Linked DNA regions of Homo sapiens: region 1 is linked to region 2. Evidence: promoter capture Hi-C in human tissues and cell types (Jung and others, 2019). All regions are on one chromosome and are shown on one strand. The core of a region is centred on a gene start or on the middle of the fragment in contact, and the rest is flanking DNA. Distances in the headings are between cores, read along the strand shown. Region 1 has its middle 13 kb from the start of IQGAP1. Region 2 holds the start of FES (FES proto-oncogene, tyrosine kinase).

Region 1 (3,375 bases), core at 254-2,753, 510 kb before region 2:
CAGGCTTTTGCCATGTTGGCCAGGCTGGTCTCAAACTCCTGAACTCAGGTGATCCGCCTGCCTCGGCCTCCCAAAGTGCTGGGATTACAGGTGTGAGCCACCATGCCCGGCCCAGACACATAGTTTCAATACAAGAAGTATATGTCAGCCAGAGAAGGGCTATCTTGAGAGTCAAGGAAGGCTCCCTGGAGGAGGTATCACTTATGCCAGTTGGTACATGAATGAGTAAATGCAAACAAGCCATGATACTGAAATAAAGCTTTGTTTAATTAACCTTCACATGTAAATTCAGCCACAGAAGACATTCTGATACATGGGGGCATTGCCAGTGATTCCACGAAACTGGATAATGTCATTGATGCTTGTGGTTGAGAGAGCTTGTTTCTGTATTGTAAGGAAGGTGGTACAACCTGGCCTTTCTTTTAAAAAAAAAAAAAAATTCAAACTGGACATGTGTCAATGAACTGACTGGAGTCTTAGGGAGGAACATTGCTCCATAGCTATATGTCTCTCCCGTTTTTTCCTGTGTTAGTCTTTTTTTTTAATTTTTTTAAAATTTTTTTGAGACAGAGTCTTGCTCTGTTGCCCAGGCTGGAGTGCAGTGGTGTGATCTTGGCTCGCTGCAAGCTCCGCCTCCCGGGTTCAAGCAATTCTCCTGCCTCAGCTTCCCAAATAGCTGGGACTACAGATGCATGCCACCATGCCTGGCTAATTTTTGTATTTTTAGTAGAGACAGAATTTCACCATGTTGGCTACACTGGTTTGGACCTCCTGACCTGAGGGGTTCCACCTGCCTCGGCCTCTCAAAGTGCTGAGATTACAGGAGTGAGCCACCTTGTCTAGCTCTTTTTTTTTTTTTCTTTTGAGACAAGTTCTTGCTCTGTCTCCCAGGCTGGAACGCAGTGGTGCAATCACAGCTCCCTGCAGCCTCGACCTCCCCAGCTCAAGTGATCTTCCCACCTCAGCCTCCCCAGTAGCTGGGGCCACAGGCATGCACCACTACGCCCAGCTAATTTTTTTTATTTTTTGTAGAGATGGTGTCTCACCATGTTGCACAGGCTGGTATCCAACTGCTGGGCTCAAGCAATCTTCCTGCCATGGCCTCCCAAAGTGCTAGGATTACAGGCGTGAGCCACTGTGCCCACGTGTTAGTCTTTACATAACTGAATAGTGACTGAAGTCTTGCAGTTTCTACCTTGCCCTGCACTGGCATTATAAGTTGTAGTAGAAATGTCACTCATTGCTTGTAATCTCATGAGAGGCCTAGTTAGATTTTTCTGTACTCTACTTCCAGAGGAGCTTATAGGAAGGTGACTTTCCATAAAGGATGTGAGCTTTCTACCACCCAAATATCAGTCGTAAAGAAAATGAGGAGTGATAAAGAAAGAAGGTATTGAGAGGTGAAGCCAGCTGGGCTTCTAGGTTGGGTGGGGACTTGGAAAACTTTTCTGTCTAGCTAGAGGATTAAAAACGCACCAATCAGCACTCTTTGTCTAGCTAAAGTATTGTAAATGCACCAATCAGCACACTGTAAAAACGCACCAATCAGCACTCTGTGTCTAGCTAAAGGACTGTAAACGCACCAGTCAGCACTCTGTAAAATGGACTAATCAGCAGGATGTGGGTGGGGCCAAATAAGGCAATAAAAGCTGGCCAGCGAAGCCAGCAGCAGGCAACCCACTCGGGTGCCCTTCCATGCTGTGGAAGCTTTGTTCTTTCGCTCTTCACAGTAAATCTTGCTGCTGCTCACTCTGGGTCCGCACTACCTTCATGAGCTGTAACACTCAATGCGAGGGTCTGCGGCTGCATTCCTGAAGTCAGCAAGACCACAAACCCACCGGGAGGAACAAACAACTCCAGATGAGCCACCTTTAAGAGCTGTAACACTCACTGCGAAGGTGTGCGGCTTCACTCCTGAAGTCAGTGAGACCACGAACCCACTGGAAGGAAGAAACTCCGGACACATCTGAACATCTGAAGGAACAAACTCCGGACACACCATCTTTAAGAGCTGTAACGCTCACCGTGAAGGTCCGTGGTTTCATTCTTGAAGTCAGCGAGACCAAGCATCCACCAAAAGGAATAAATTCCAGACGCAGTATTTACAGCCCAGTGTCCACCCATTCCCCATGTAGCAACCCCTGGTACCTGAGGAAAAAGGTCACAGCCTCTGCCAATGGTGGGGCATCTTTCCGAAGAGGTTCCACTTGGACTTTTTGAAACATCATGTGGCTGTGCTGTTTGAGAAGCCTGGGGTGAAATTAACTATACAAGAATCAGGGCATGATCACACACGCACACACCTTTGCAATTTTTCTGGCTTTGTTTACACTGTTACTGCAACTTGTGCCCTTTCTCACCCTTTTCATAGGTCTTCCCTGCAAAGTCTTTTTTTTTTTTTTTTTTTGAGACGGAGTCTCGCTCTGTCGTTCAGGCTGGAGTGCAGTGGCGTGATCTCGGCTCACTGCAACCTCCGCCTCCTGGGTTCACGCCATTCTCCCGCCTCAGCCTCCCGAGTAGCTGGGACTACAGGCACCTGCTACCTGGCGCAGCTAATTTGTGTATTTTTAATAGAGACGGGTTTCACCGTGTTAACGAGGATGGTCTCCATCTCTTGACCTCATGATCTGCCCGCCTCAGCCTCCCAAAGTGTTAGGATTACAGGCCTGAGCCACCGCACCCGACCCATCAACTGTTCTCTTATCTGTGCTCCTAGATCTCTATCTTGATGTCTGAAAGCTTCTTGAGAGTGCTTTGTCAGGTCTATGTCCATCACATTCTTTGGTGGATGTGGCCTCACAAATCTTTCAACTCAGCCCTCTAGGTCCTCATGTGCATTAGTGGAGAATAGCGTTCACATATGTGGGCTTTGGGTCCAATGCAGTTTGAATACTGAGTATGTCACTAACTAGTTGTGTAATTTTTGGAACATTGTTAACCTTTCTGATTTCAGTTTCCTTATCCTTAAATTGAAAATTCTAGTAGTTCCTACCTCATAGGATTGTTGTGAAGGTCAAATGAGATCAAATACTTACAACTGGACCTAAGGGGCACTCATTATGAGTTAGCTGTTGTTACTAGTAACCCATTGTCATCCCTGTAGATGTTTCAGGGGTTTGCCGTGGGGAACCCTGCCATGCAGGCTTGTCTCAGGTTCTGACCCTGTGATGGGGTCTGGTGTTCCCTGCCTCGTTTACCGCTCTTTCCCCATACTTTGGTCTGACTCTCCAATGAGCTCATGATTCCTATGAGCGATTTCTGTCTCTTGATGAATCTTTAGATTTGTCCTTTGTCTTAGGCCTTGAGACTGCAGTAGAACCTTGTGGCCTATTCTAACCCCAGCCCGGAAACCAATGCCCCAACTCCATTCTGGGC
Region 2 (3,233 bases), core at 491-2,990:
GATTATTTCACTTTAGATGCTGATGATTTGTTTTTGTATTTTTAATGGGGGTAGCAGCTGGACTACCCACGTTCTCACACCCACCGTCCGCCCTGCTCCTCCCTGGCTGCCCTGGCCCTGAGGTGTGGGGGCTGCAGCATGTTGCTGAGGAGTGAGGAATAGTTGAGCCCCAAGTCCTGAAGAGGCGGGCCAGCCAGGCGGGCTCAAGGAAAGGGGGTCCCAGTGGGAGGGGCAGGCTGACATCTGTGTTTCAAGTGGGGCTCGCCATGCCGGGGGTTCATAGGTCACTGGCTCTCCAAGTGCCAGAGGTGGGCAGGTGGTGGCACTGAGCCCCCCCAACACTGTGCCCTGGTGGAGAAAGCACTGACCTGTCATGCCCCCCTCAAACCTCCTCTTCTGACGTGCCTTTTGCACCCCTCCCATTAGGACAATCAGTCCCCTCCCATCTGGGAGTCCCCTTTTCTTTTCTACCCTAGCCATTCCTGGTACCCAGCCATCTGCCCAGGGGTGCCCCCTCCTCTCCCATCCCCCTGCCCTCGTGGCCAGCCCGGCTGGTTTTGTAAGATGCTGGGTTGGTGCACAGTGATTTTTTTCTTGTAATTTAAACAGGCCCAGCATTGCTGGTTCTATTTAATGGACATGAGATAATGTTAGAGGTTTTAAAGTGATTAAACGTGCAGACTATGCAAACCAGGCCCAGTCTCCAGTGTGGTACCGTTGCTCCTGCATCGCAGCTGAGGATAGGGGGCCAGTTAGGCCTACACAGTGGCCTGCCTGCCTGGATGTGGGCCCAAGTCAGAAGGCCAAAGTCCTCCAAGGGGCGGGAGGATGCGCCAGCCCCTAGTGGAGGAGCTGGTGCCCCTGGGGTGGGGCTGGTGACCCCTGGTCCTCAGGAGCTGAGCACTAAACTCCCAAAGTCCTGGTTTCCAGCAGTGTGAAGAACTGGGCCTATTGTGTCTTCCTGGGCTGAAGTGATCTGGTCGCCACAGGCTATAGGGCTGAGGCCTAAGGTGGAGGGAGGCCTGACTGAATCAAGATGACTTCTTGTGGGGAGCCTGAGTCCCAAATGGAAAACTCCACGCCTGTCCGCTCCCCAACCCCTGCCCCTTGATTTCCCCAGGTCTCCCTTGGGACAGGAAGCCCCTGCCTGGGGGTAGGAGGATGGGGACAAAACCACTAGGATCTGTATCCGAGAAGCAGTCTCTGTTCGGGATATTTACTTGGAAATTTTATTCAAATGGAAGCTGGCGCCTGAGCCTCTCCTTAGGGAATTCCGTGAGGTGGGGAGGGCTGGGACCAGGGTTCCCTCTTTCTCTTCTGCGGTGGCCCTGGCCTGGTGCTAGGACTGCGCGCCTCCCCTCAGTACCCGCGGACACCCTGGGCTTCCCTGGGCCCAGCATCTGCCTGGGGCCTCGCCCTGGGCTCCCCCTCCTGACCCCCACCTTGCGCCCCTTCCCGGTGTTCCCGGGGCGCTGCCGGGCCCTGGGGCCTGCGGGGCGCGGGCGGCTCTTGGCTGGGCCATTCTTTCCCGGCCCCCTCCTCCCTTCCGTTTCCGTGGCCGTGCGGCCGGCTAGAGGCTGCGGCCCAGCGCGGAGCAGGGGGGCTGGCAGGCGTCGGGGCGGTCGGGCCGGTCCCGCCCGCCCCTTCCCCTCCACAGGCCCGCCCCGGGGCCTGGGCCAACTGAAACCGCGGGAGGAGGAAGCGCGGAATCAGGAACTGGCCGGGGTCCGCACCGGGCCTGAGTCGGTCCGAGGCCGTCCCAGGAGCAGCTGCCCGTGCGGGTACCTCTAGCCCCGGGGCCTGGAGGAGCGGTGGGAGCTGGGGGCGCGGCAGGCAGGGGCAGAGCAGGCGTTCCGAGGGCCAGAGACCCACCCAGGTGGGGGTAGGGGCCGCGGAAGGGCGGGGATGGCCGCAGGGGCAGGGCTCAGGCTGTGGGCGCCTGAGGCTTCAGCTGGGGCAGGCTTGGCCTGTCGAGGACCTGGGCAAGGGTGTCCCTGTAAGGGGTGGTGGGTGGAAGGGCCTGGGGAGGGAGGCTCCAGGTTGGCTCCTGTTCCCGAACGTGCGGAGGAGACCCTGACGCTAAGGAAGCAATGAGGGCCAGTCCCCAGGCCAGGCTGCTGCTGGGTACCCATGGCTGCGTGTGAGCGAGGCAGGACCCCACCTCCTCCCCGTCTGCAGTCCATCCTGACCCTACAGTCCCCAGTCTCCTCGTCCCATGCCTCCGTCTCCAGCTGCTGCCTTGCCTCCAGGGATGGCCCCTTTTCTGTCCCCAGAACAGCACTATGGGCTTCTCTTCCGAGCTGTGCAGCCCCCAGGGCCACGGGGTCCTGCAGCAAATGCAGGAGGCCGAGCTTCGTCTACTGGAGGGCATGAGAAAGTGGATGGCCCAGCGGGTCAAGAGTGACAGGGAGTATGCAGGACTGCTTCACCACATGTCCCTGCAGGACAGTGGGGGCCAGAGCCGGGCCATCAGCCCTGACAGCCCCATCAGTCAGGTGGGTCTCTATGGGACTCTGGTGGGTGCTGGCTGTATCTGCCTTCTCCTTCCTCTCCTGGGGGCCCTCTGGGGCAGTGGCTGGAGATCTGGCAGGCCAATGCTTGGGAGCCATTGTGCCCCCCTCCCTGCCTCCCCCATCTGTGCTGTATAGTCCTGGGCTGAGATCACCAGCCAAACTGAGGGCCTGAGCCGCTTGCTGCGGCAGCACGCAGAGGATCTGAACTCAGGGCCCCTGAGCAAGCTGAGCCTGCTCATCCGGGAACGGCAGCAGCTTCGCAAGACCTACAGCGAGCAGTGGCAGCAGCTGCAGCAGGAGCTCACCAAGGTGAGCGGGCAGCACTGGGGCTTCGGTCATTTCTGTCTAAATTTTGAGCCTCGAAGGGGTTGTTTTGCACAAGAGGCCCTGGATTCACTGGGGAAGTGTAAGTCCCTGACCGCAGGCCTGGCTTGCTCTAACCTTGATGCAGCTTCCTCTCTTCCTTCCCCTACGTTGAGCTGGCTTGCAGCAAGGCCTCTCTGTGCTTTTTCTGTGCCTGGGCAAAGTGCTGGGAGTGTAAGGATGAGTGACCGGTCACGTGCCTGGGAGAAGCTCAGAATCGGTACTCGCCTCCACACTGTGCCATCTGGCTCTGGGTTCTGAGAGTCAGGGAGAGGAATGAGGGTCAGTCTGTTTGCCTTCGACCTAGGCAGCCTCCTCTCAGGGCCCCAGAGACTGGGCAGCAGCATGGCCCCCCGA

Evidence for each region. The method cuts DNA at HindIII sites, captures the fragments that hold promoters and counts their contacts. A contact is called where the count stands out against the background at its distance.
Region 1: a contact is called between a fragment that was not itself captured here and the fragment with the promoter of FES in region 2, in 2 of the 25 tissues and cell types used here (dorsolateral prefrontal cortex and stomach).

The regions. Positions count from the first base shown.
Region 1 is chr15:90,373,736-90,377,110 of GRCh38, forward strand. No RefSeq gene overlaps it. Among named protein-coding and RNA genes, the nearest start is that of IQGAP1, 13 kb to the right of the region's middle. The HindIII fragment of the contact is 3,327 bases long and covers 1-3,167 here.
Region 2 is chr15:90,882,764-90,885,996 of GRCh38, forward strand. It overlaps FES (FES proto-oncogene, tyrosine kinase), which reads left to right and starts at 1,741. Exons shown (of 19, transcript NM_002005.4): 1 at 1,741-1,781; 2 at 2,274-2,495; 3 at 2,649-2,822. The coding sequence starts at 2,283. It overlaps FURIN (furin, paired basic amino acid cleaving enzyme), which reads left to right. Exons shown (of 16, transcript NM_002569.4): 16 at 1-694. RefSeq lists enhancers at 790-919, 2,457-2,886 and a silencer at 1,317-1,826. The HindIII fragment of the contact is 25,407 bases long and covers 1-3,233 here.